Linked DNA regions of Homo sapiens: regions 1 and 2 are each linked to region 3. The links are contacts of gene promoters, found by promoter capture Hi-C in blood cells and fetal thymus (Javierre and others, 2016). All regions are on one chromosome and are shown on one strand. Each heading gives the region's core, a stretch centred on a gene start or on the middle of the fragment in contact. The rest is flanking DNA. Distances are from core to core; before and after follow the strand shown. Region 1 overlaps ASAP2 (ArfGAP with SH3 domain, ankyrin repeat and PH domain 2). Region 2 overlaps LOC105373417 (a long non-coding RNA gene). Region 3 holds the start of ASAP2 (ArfGAP with SH3 domain, ankyrin repeat and PH domain 2).

Region 1 (3,228 bases), core at 437-2,936, 34 kb before region 3:
GCCTCAGTTATATCAAAGCAGGAGCTAATGTGCACCAATGTCTTACACCCAATGGTCTGAACACGTGTAATAGTCTCACCTGACAATCATCGGACAATCAAAACCTACTTCCCCAGCATCATGCTTCCCCAGACGGCAATTTTCCTCCATAAAGGAGGTGAGAAAAGAAAGAAAAGTTGGAACAGTAAAGGAAACAGAAAAAATGGGATAAAATGATGATCAGCTGAGGATTCTCTCCTTGAATCCATCCTGAGGAAGCAAAGGCCTCTGGACTGCGTTCCTTTGAAAGGTGATCCCGCGACCAGCTATCAGCCCCAGCAGTTTCAGGATGAAGACTCAGGGAACAGAGCCCACACACCGCCCAATACAAGATGTCAACTTCAAGCCAGGCTGAGGGCACCGCAAGTGCCCATCCCTGTCAAGCTAGACACAGCAGCTAGAGTATGGTACTGGGTCTATCACAGTTTGTAGCATCCAATTCCTCTAGGTGTGACCCTACCAGAAGAAAAGGCTTCTAGAAGCAGATCACTAGAGGTTACAGTGAAACCTTAGTGCACTTATTCAACAAACATTTACCAAGCACCACCAGTGTGCTGGCACAAGGCTAGGTGATGGAAGAGCTCCTGACAGTGTCAGCAAGGAACTGAATCTGCACTTCCCATGGACCAGGTCAGATCTCTATCTGTAAACCGCCAAAGCATGCGCCCCTAAGATCACGGTCCAAAGAATGCCTACCATCACTGTCTGGCCAAATAAAAAAAAAGTTTCATTCCAGCACAGAGCACAGACCTCCCCCCTCTCTTCCAAGATAGCAAACACAACGAACGCCTGTGAGGTACATGTTATGCCTTCTCCTCCTTGCTTCACATGAGGAAACTAGTGCTCGAAGAAGCTAACCAACTTGCCCAGAAGTACAGTTACCAAGTAGTAAAACCAGGTGTGAAATTCACATGTGTCCGCCTGATAACAAAGTTCTTAATCTGTCTAACATGCTCCCCTAAACTTATTGGGACCCTAACATGTGCAACCATGTAATCCTCCACCTGCCAGGTCCTGAGTTCTCTTCTCACTTATTAGATTCAACCTTTCAGGTCCAGATCAAAATGCCATCCCTTTCCTTCTCCTCGCTTTCCTTGACTTAGCACAGTGTCTGGCATATACTCACTAATGTTGGAGGAGTTGAAAATATACATATCCACAATAGGAAAATTACAGTACATATCTTTGGTGAGGCATGAACATTTACTTAAAGCAATTAGTTTTTTGTTGTTGTTTGAGCCTGGTTTGAGACTCCAGGCTGGAGTGCAGTGGTGCGATCACGGCGCCACCATGCCTGGGTAAAAGATGGGGTTTCGCCATGTTTCCCAGGCTGGTCTCGAACTCCTGGGCTCAAGTGATCCTCCTGCTTCTTTGGCCTCCCAGTGTGCTGGGATTATAGGCATGAGCCACCACACCCAGCCAGTTTGATTTTCATGTATGTATGTACATCCCCAACCCTGATATGGATAAGGAACTCATAATCGCACCAGTTTAGCATGCAAAGTGGTAATAGGACAATGACTTCCCAGAAAACCTCTCACCAAAAACTATCAGGAAAACAAAGAATTAATGTTCTACATGCACAACAGTTCAACCAAAATTCTGCAGCATTACTTAATACTGACAAAATATCTTCCAGCACACATGCTAAATTAAGAAAGATTGTATCCTAAAAGATAAATATGTGAGCTAATAATATTTCATCTTAGAATGTGTTTTTGGACTCATCCAGATACAGTACTACCCTCTTATCCACAGTTTCATTTTCCACAGTTTCCACTAACCACAGTCCAAAAATATTCCACAGAAAAGTCCAGAAATAAGCAATTCATAACTTTTAAATTGCTTGCTGTTCTATGTCAAGAGATGAAATCTCACACCGTCCTGCCTCCCACGCGGGACGTGACTCCTCCCTTTGTCTGGCAGAACCACAAGGTCCATGCTACCTGCCCATGAGTCACCTAGTAGCTGCCTAGGTTATGAGATGATTGTCCCAGTATTGCAGAGCCTGTGTTCAAGTAACCCTTATTTTTTACATAATAATGGTCCCAGAGCACAAGAACCCTAGATGCTGGTAATGCAGATATGCCAAGGAGAAATCATACAGCACTTCCTTTAAGTAAAAAGATGAAACTCCTTGACTTAAGGAAAAATTCCTATGCTGAGGTTGCTAAGATCTAAGGGAAAAGTGGGTCTTCTATTCATGAAATGGTAAAGAAGAAAAAAATAAACTCATGCTAGCTTTGCCTTCACATCTCAAACTGCAAAAGCTACGGCCGTGGTGCGTGGCAAGTGCTTAGTTATGATGGAAAAATCATTAACTTTTGGGAGGGGCTGGGCACGGTGGCTCACACCTGAAACCTCAGCACTCTGGGAGGCCAAGGCAGGTGAATCGCTCCAGTCCAGGAGTTTGAGACCAGCCTGGGAAACATGGAGAAACCCCATCTCTACAAAAAATTAGCTTGGCATGGTGGTGCATGCCTGTGATCCCAGCTACCGGGGAGGTGGATGTGGGAGGATCACCTGGGCCCAGGAAATGGTGGCTGCAGTGAGCCGTGATGGCGCCACTGCACTCCAGCCTGGGTGACAGAGTGAGACCCTGTCTCAAATAAAAAAAAAAAAAAAAAAAAAATTATGGGAGGAAGACATGACATGAACAGAGACATGTCGTGATTGAAGGCAAACTAGTTCAATATTAGCTGGCTGCAGGCATCCACCGAGGGTCTTGGAACATACCCCCCAGGGATAATGGGGCTTCAGTATTTAGATAAGTCTGTGAAGATCAACTGTGAAAATCTTATCTACATTGCTCTAAGAAGTTGACTAGTTTTTTCACCCTGACTTAATTTCTTTCCATAAACCACCCCAAAAGTAGCAGGACAGGGAAAAGAATTCAACTTAGAAACAGAAGACCTCCTTCTTACCAGCTACAAGGCCTTGGGAAAGTCACTTAAACATGACAAAAACTCATCTCTACAAAAAAATTACTGGGGCATGGTGGTGTGCACCTGGAGTCCAAGCTACTCAAGAGGCTGAGGTGGGTGGATCACTTGAGCCCAGAAAGGCCAAGGCTGCAGTGAGCCGTGACCACTCCACTGACCAGCCTGGGCGACACAGTGAGGCCTCATCTAAAACAAAAAAAAAAAGATGCTGCCATTACAGTGGTTTCAACAACAACGACAACAACAA
Region 2 (3,362 bases), core at 318-2,817, 64 kb after region 3:
AAGCTGTGCCCCCACCACTTGGGTACATGACCTCAGGGCCTCCTGAGGCTGTAACATGGGTGTGTCTTTAACACTGGCAAAATAAACTTTCCAGATTGATTGGGTGTCTCAGACACTTTTAGGTTCACAGTGTGTGGTGTGTGTGTGTGGTGTGTGTGGTGTGTGTGTGGGGGGTGTGTGTGTGTGTGTGTGGTGTGTGTGTGATGTGTGTGGTGTGTGTGTGTGGTGTTATGCAATTTATCATGTGATTTGTGTAATCATTGTTATTTACTGGTCTATATGTTCAGTAATGGTGTCTTAGGAACATCTTTGCTTTTTGTTTTGTTTTGTTTTTTGAGATGGAGTCTTGCTCTGTGGCCCAGGCTGGAGTGCAGTGGTACAATCTTGGCTCACTGTAACCTCCGCCTCCCGGGTTCAAGCGATTCTCCTGCCTCAGCCTCCCAAGTAGCTGGGATTACAGGTGTGCGCCACTATGCCCGGCTAATTTTTTGTATTTTTAGTACAGATGGGGTTTCACCATGTTGGCCAGGCTGGTCTTGAACTCCTGACCTCAGGTGATCCATCCACCCGCCTCAGACTCCCAAAGTGCTGGGATTACAGGCGTGAGCTACTGCACCCGGCCTTAGGGGCATCCTTGATAGAGGCTTAAGGCCATGGACTTGAATGAGATTTCCCAGGAGAAGGTGCAGACAGAAAAGGAGGCGGCTTGGGTGGAATGCCAGACAGAAGAGGGACTTTGCTCTGGCCCCCGGAAGAAGCTTCGTGGAGGAGAAGGGTCTATGAGGGGAGGAGACCCCAGAATCCCCTACAAGGGAGGCATCTGGGGCCTGCCCAGCCCTGCTCTTGGGACCCTCTGACCTGGGCTTTCCAGACAGGTCCGTTTTCAAACCCTCTGCTCATGGCTCCCGTACGCCATCAGCCCCAGAATGCCAGCATTTAGGTGCCTAAGCTACACTTCCTAGAAAGCCGTTTGCCTCTGGAATGCTTTGCTAGGTCATGTGTACTGAATTTGGGCTGGAAAAATGTAGCTATATTTGTAAAATATGTCAGTAAGATTGAACACCTGTAGCCAAGCTTGCAGGAGGGACCCCGAAGTCACTGCTGCCAGGCTGGACACGGGGGGCCTTTTGCACCCCCAGCACAGGGCCTGGCACACAAGCCACACTCCGTTGTGAAGCTCGGTTGTTTGTGGTCAAATTCTACACTTTTGGCATCTTTTTTTCAACGAGCGGGAGCACAGCTGTGCGGCGTCTCCTAAAAGCCTTGGCGAGTTAACTCCTACGGAAGTAGGGAAAACGCTTTTCCCCAAGGGGGAGAGAGGTGCACTATTTCTGGAGTAAAAATTTCATGCTCTGTATATTTTTGTTCAGACGTTTGAGCATGAGTTCCTCCGTCTGCGAACTCTGAGTTTGAGGATTCTGAGTCACAGCCCCAGACACGCGCCCGGTGGAAAACGCCCCAGTCCCTCGCGGGGCAGAGGCGGCGCCGGGAACGGTGCGGCAGCACCCCCTGGTGGCGAATGTCGATGCTGCGCCCCGAGGAAGGAAGGCCGGGGAAGCCCTCCTTAGGAGAGGCCCTGCTTGTTACCCCACCCTCCAAAGGCACGCGGCTTACCAGCCTCAGAGGCTCCCAGCTCCACCCTCTCAGCCAGTCTGGAGAGAGCCTGGTGTGACGGAAGGCGGTGTGGACCTAGGAGATAGGGACCGACACTTAGGGTTCCCTGCTGTTTGCGCATCAGGGAATGTGCTGATGAGGACTCAGAGGTGAATGAACCCTAACCCTAGGCCCGGCGCGGTGGCTCACGCCTGTAATCCCGGCACTTTGGGAGACTGAGGTGGGCGGATCACCTGAGGTCAGGAGTTCAAGATCAGCCTAGCCAACATGGTGAAACCCCTTCTGTACTAAAAATAAAAAGAATTAGCCGGGCATGGTGGCGCACGCTTGTAATCCCAGCAACTCGGGAGGCTGAGGTAGGAGAATTGCTTGAAGCCGGGAGGCAAAGGTTGCAGTGAGTCGAGATCGCGCCATTGCATTTCAGCCTGGGCAAGAGCGAAGCTTCGTCTCAAAAAAAAAAAAAAAAAAAAAGAGATGAATGCGATGAATGCACACCCTGGGCTCCGACATCTGCAGGCTCACGTGCTGAGGGGAAGGCAGACCAAGACCATAAGGACCAGAGCTAGAGATTCGGGGCTCAGTAGCGTGGGGTTCTGGCTTTGTCCCCTATCAGCTGTGGGACTGAGGGCAAGCTGCTTAAGCCCTCAGAGACTCAGCTTTTTCATATGTAAACAGGGAAACAGGGCTAATAATTAGTACTTGGCGTAACTATTGTTAAGATACAGTATGTGAAATGAGAGGTACATAATAGATTCACTAAATGGAAGGTAATTATACTTCTTATTCATGTCATAACAACTGATCTGGCAAAGAAGCGAGTACTGGGAGATGAGGGCATGGTTAGGAAAGTCTTCATCAATGGGGAGACATTTCAGCTGGGTTTTGAAGGATGACTAGGAGTTTTCCAATCAAAGGGGGAAGGGCCTCTAGATGGGGGAACTGTGTGTACAAAGGCATAGTGGTAAGAAGTGCTATAGTGCATTTGGAGAGCTGTAAATAGTTCGGTAAATAGTTCAGCAGGTGTAGCTGAAACTGGCCAGGTGAATTTGATCAGAATCTCTGAGAGCAGGTTACAGGAATCTGTGTTTGATAAGAAGTTTCCCAGGAGATTCTGAGGCTGACTTCCCACAGGCCTAAAGTCTGGAAACCCATTGCTGTACCTGACATTCTGCACAATTCTCTCTAATCTGAACCACAACCCAGCAAGATAGAGGTTATTTGTCCTTATTTTACACAGCAGAAAGCCAAGACTCAGAGAGGTAAAGCGACTTGCCCAGGATCACACAGCTAAGGTAAGCCAAGATTCAATCCCTGGTCAGGTTGACTTCAAACCCCATCCACACAGTGAGTGCCCAGTAAAAGCCAGCGATGACCCTCCCTGCCGACGCTCTACAGGCTGGACCCCCAGGTGTGTTGATCCTGTTTCCCTGACTCCATCCTGTTAGGAGTCTGAGGGAAGAGGGGGTTGGGGCCAGGGAAGCACCTCCTGTGGGCCAGATTTCAATGCCACGTAGAGAAGTTTCCCTGGTTAGAATTGCTCATTGGAGGAGGAGAGTCCTGCTCTTCTCAGGAATTTGCCAGAGATAGTTTTGTGGGCGTGTGTGTGTAATTTTTAAAAAATCTAAAATAATCTCTGACTTAAGAAGAGCTTCCACTGCAGCACAAATCATGCATTTTTTCCTGAACCATTTGGGGGTAAATTGTCAACACTTGCTCCCTAATACTCCACCTCCAATACTCCATCACCC
Region 3 (3,091 bases), core at 307-2,806:
GTGACACCCACCCCCCCACCCACACACACACTCCTGCTAGCCCAGGCGTCTTCTGCTAAAACACCTGCAATACCCAATTTTAAAACTGTAACCTGACATCCTGGCCCAGAGACATTTAATCACAGATTCACTATTGCCACACGTGTGACTTGTAAACCTATTCTGAGCCGAGCAGAGTGCTAAGCACTTCACACAGTCTCTGATCCTGGAAAGGATGCATTACTAATCCCGTTTGATGGGTAAGGAAAAGGAGGACTGCAGGTGAGGATGTGCCTCAAACCACAGCCAACGGTGGCCCCTGGACTCACAGACTCTGCCCCTTTCCCCACGGCTTTAATTTTCAACCAAGCTTCTTCGTTCCTACGTGTTCCTCTCCCCAGGACCTGGAGAGCGTACTGCTTAGCAGCTAGGCGTGATGACTTTGCACCTTGAGAGCACTTTACTAAAACCAGGCCTTTTCCAGGTTGAGGGGGAAGGGCGGCATTCCGGGTTCAAGCAGGTGAGACCCAGGTAACCGGGGAGCGGCTCCTGGAGGCTTCTTGGACCCAGAAGCGCCGACTCTCACACACCTTGCCCGCAGTTCCTTCTCCGGGCACGGGTGGAGCGCAGCCAGGCCGCCCTGGCTGAGGCGGGCACGCCTTCCCGGGCAGCCCGGGATGCCCCGGACCCGCGGACCCGAGGGTGGGGGCCCTGCGGCGCTCGGGGGCTGCGGCGGGGAGCTCGGAGCGCGGAGCTGCCCCCGCCGGTCCACTTCAAGAACAAGTTGATAAGGTCCGCACCGGGTACCAAAGACCCCGGGCGGCGGCGGGCGGCGGCGGGCAGCGGGATCCCCCGCTCGCCGCGGACCCCGACTCTGGACAAAGTTGGCCGCGCTGCGGGGAAAAGACCAGGCCGCGGAACCCCGCGAGGGCCACGAGGCCGAGAGAGGGGAGGTCTTAAAGAGGCCCAAGGTGGCCATCACCCATCTCCTCCGAGCCACCTAGGCGGGAACAAAGGGCTTCTGTCTCGGGCAGGGTTGGCCCGGCCGCGTCCGGCTTCGGAGCAAAGAAAGTTTTCTCGGGATGCGGATGCGGGAGCGGCGGGCGGGGCTGGGGCGCGGGATACCTGCGGCCGGAGCCGCCGCGCAGGCCGCCTCACCTCCTCGATGGCCGCCACAGTGTTCCGGCACTGCGCCGTGCGGGTGGTGAAGCTGGAGGCCGTGGGCGCCTTGTAGTCCTCATGGGTCTCGGCCACGAATTCCGACACGGAGATCTGGTCCGGCATCGCCTCGGCGCGAGGGCGCTGGCGCACAGCCGCAGGGGCGCCGCCGCCTCAACTGCCGCAGCAGGCTCCGACCGCCGCTCGGACACCGCCGCTGCCGCCGCCGCTCCGGCCCGCGGACAAAGGGGAGCGCCGGGCGCGGGAGCCGCGCGGGGCCTGGCGGCGGAGCAGGGGCGGCGCGCAGCCCCGCGCAGCTCGGCCGGTCCGCCCGCCTGCGCGCCGAGGGCTCCGAGTCCGCTGCCGCCGCGTCCTCTCAGAGCGAGCCCCGAGGCGGGCGCGCACAGCCGGCGGGAACTACCCGCCACCCAGCCGCGGGCCCCGACGCCTCCCGCGGAGAGGGGCGGGTCCGGGCCGGGGGCGGCGGCCGGCCGGGCGTGGGGCGGGGCGGCGGGAGGACCGGGCCGCCAATCGGCGCGCTCGCCGCTGCCGCGCCGCCGGGAAGCGGATCCCGCAGGAAGGAAGGCGGCGCGCGCCCCGGCCCGCCGAGCCGTTCCTGGCCGCCGCGCGCCGCATTGTCTCGGCGTTCCGGGCCCCGCGCGCCGCGCCCATGCCCCGCCCCCAGCCGGCCCGAGGCCCCGACTCCGACCCGCTGCCCGCGAGGGTGCGTGTGGAGGTGCGCCCCGCCGGAGTCCGGCCTTGTGCGCGCCAACCGCCCCCCGCCCACGGCGCGGAGCACCTCTGGGCTCCCCACTTGAACGGCGGGCCGCGCCGGCCCATGAGGAAAGCGGGGTGCGGAGCTCGCCCCCTGCCGGAGGATGCGCTCCGCCGGCGGGCACCCTGCGGGGACCACAGCCGGACGCCAGAAGTGACCTGACCGTGAATGTGCGCTTTGCGTGCAGTCATTGCATCGTCGCAGGCCTAGGAGACAGATGAAGAGATGGGTGCTTATTTTATATAGGGGACACAGTGTGCCCAAGAGCACAAGATAAACGGCCGGGTGGGGATTCAAACCCATGTTCCCTGACTCAAGTGTGAGTGCTTCAGAGCGGTGAGGGGCCCCTACTAAAAGTCCCAGTCGCGTTTCCTAGGCTGCCCAATGATAGGTATTCTCGGTTATAGTTTTAGGGTACTAGGCCAGGACCCACCCTGGGAAGGCTGCTGAACGCCCTGAAGTGGTATTCCCGCAGGCAGAGGAGGGAACCGAGGGGGTGCAGGAGGAGGAGGAGGGGGAGAACGTGCTACAGCAGCCAGCCAACCTCACACAAAACCGGGCCAGTAAAGGGTTCGAACTGGTACCGATTTTTATTTACAGCTCTTAAGGAAATTCTCGGTTATACTGAAAAATCCAGAAGCTCTGAAGATACCAGTCAAATAAAATCACACCCTATAACTCTACACCAGACTTGTGGCATGGTTTCTGTAGCTGCCAGCGGTAAAACCAAGAGAAACTTTACAAAAACCTTTTGTGCATCTGAAAAGGAGGAAGTGTGAGAGACACTGGAAATTCAATATGTCAGACAAAGCCGTCTCCTGACACTGCAGGACAGTAGACCAGTCAAACAATCTTTTTAAAGCCCCCATGTAAGAAGTTGCTATATGAGGTGGCAGCTTGGGTCAGACATTATGTATGGCCTTTGGTATTTTAGTAGCACTGCATGTAAAATTTAACTTTCTAAAATCGCTGTATTCGTGGATAGCTTTTATCATTGCACTAGACAACAAGTTACAATTTAAAAATTGTATCTGTTTCTTTTTATGTTTTTTGATCCTTTTGGTGTCTGAAGTTTTCCTCTATTTGCAACCTTCTACAATTCATGTTTTGTGTTTATTATTTATATTAATACATCCTCTCCAACACCAGGCAGATTCTGTTCCCGCCTACCTAGTTTCC

What was found. The method cuts DNA at HindIII sites, captures the fragments that hold promoters and counts their contacts. A CHiCAGO score of 5 or more calls a contact.
Region 1: a fragment that was not itself captured here is called in contact with the fragment with the promoter of ASAP2 in region 3 in 1 of 17 cell types (endothelial precursors); the score reaches 5.1 in endothelial precursors.
Region 2: a fragment that was not itself captured here is called in contact with the fragment with the promoter of ASAP2 in region 3 in 2 of 17 cell types (megakaryocytes and endothelial precursors); the score reaches 9.9 in megakaryocytes.

Annotation. Positions count from the first base shown.
Region 1 is chr2:9,239,689-9,242,916 of GRCh38, reverse strand. The region is part of intron 1 of ASAP2 (ArfGAP with SH3 domain, ankyrin repeat and PH domain 2); the gene reads right to left. Among named protein-coding and RNA genes, the nearest start is that of ASAP2, 34 kb to the right of the region's middle. The HindIII fragment of the contact is 4,856 bases long and covers 1-3,228 here.
Region 2 is chr2:9,141,048-9,144,409 of GRCh38, reverse strand. The region is part of intron 1 of LOC105373417 (a long non-coding RNA gene); the gene reads left to right. Among named protein-coding and RNA genes, the nearest start is that of ASAP2, 64 kb to the left of the region's middle. RefSeq lists enhancers at 1,295-1,374, 1,491-2,388. The HindIII fragment of the contact is 981 bases long and covers 1,077-2,057 here.
Region 3 is chr2:9,205,277-9,208,367 of GRCh38, reverse strand. ASAP2 (ArfGAP with SH3 domain, ankyrin repeat and PH domain 2) reads right to left here and starts at 1,556. Exons shown (of 28, transcript NM_003887.3): 1 at 1,138-1,556. The coding sequence starts at 1,263. RefSeq lists enhancers at 544-1,474, 1,475-2,407 and silencers at 1,837-2,020, 1,767-2,026. The HindIII fragment of the contact is 2,916 bases long and covers 352-3,091 here.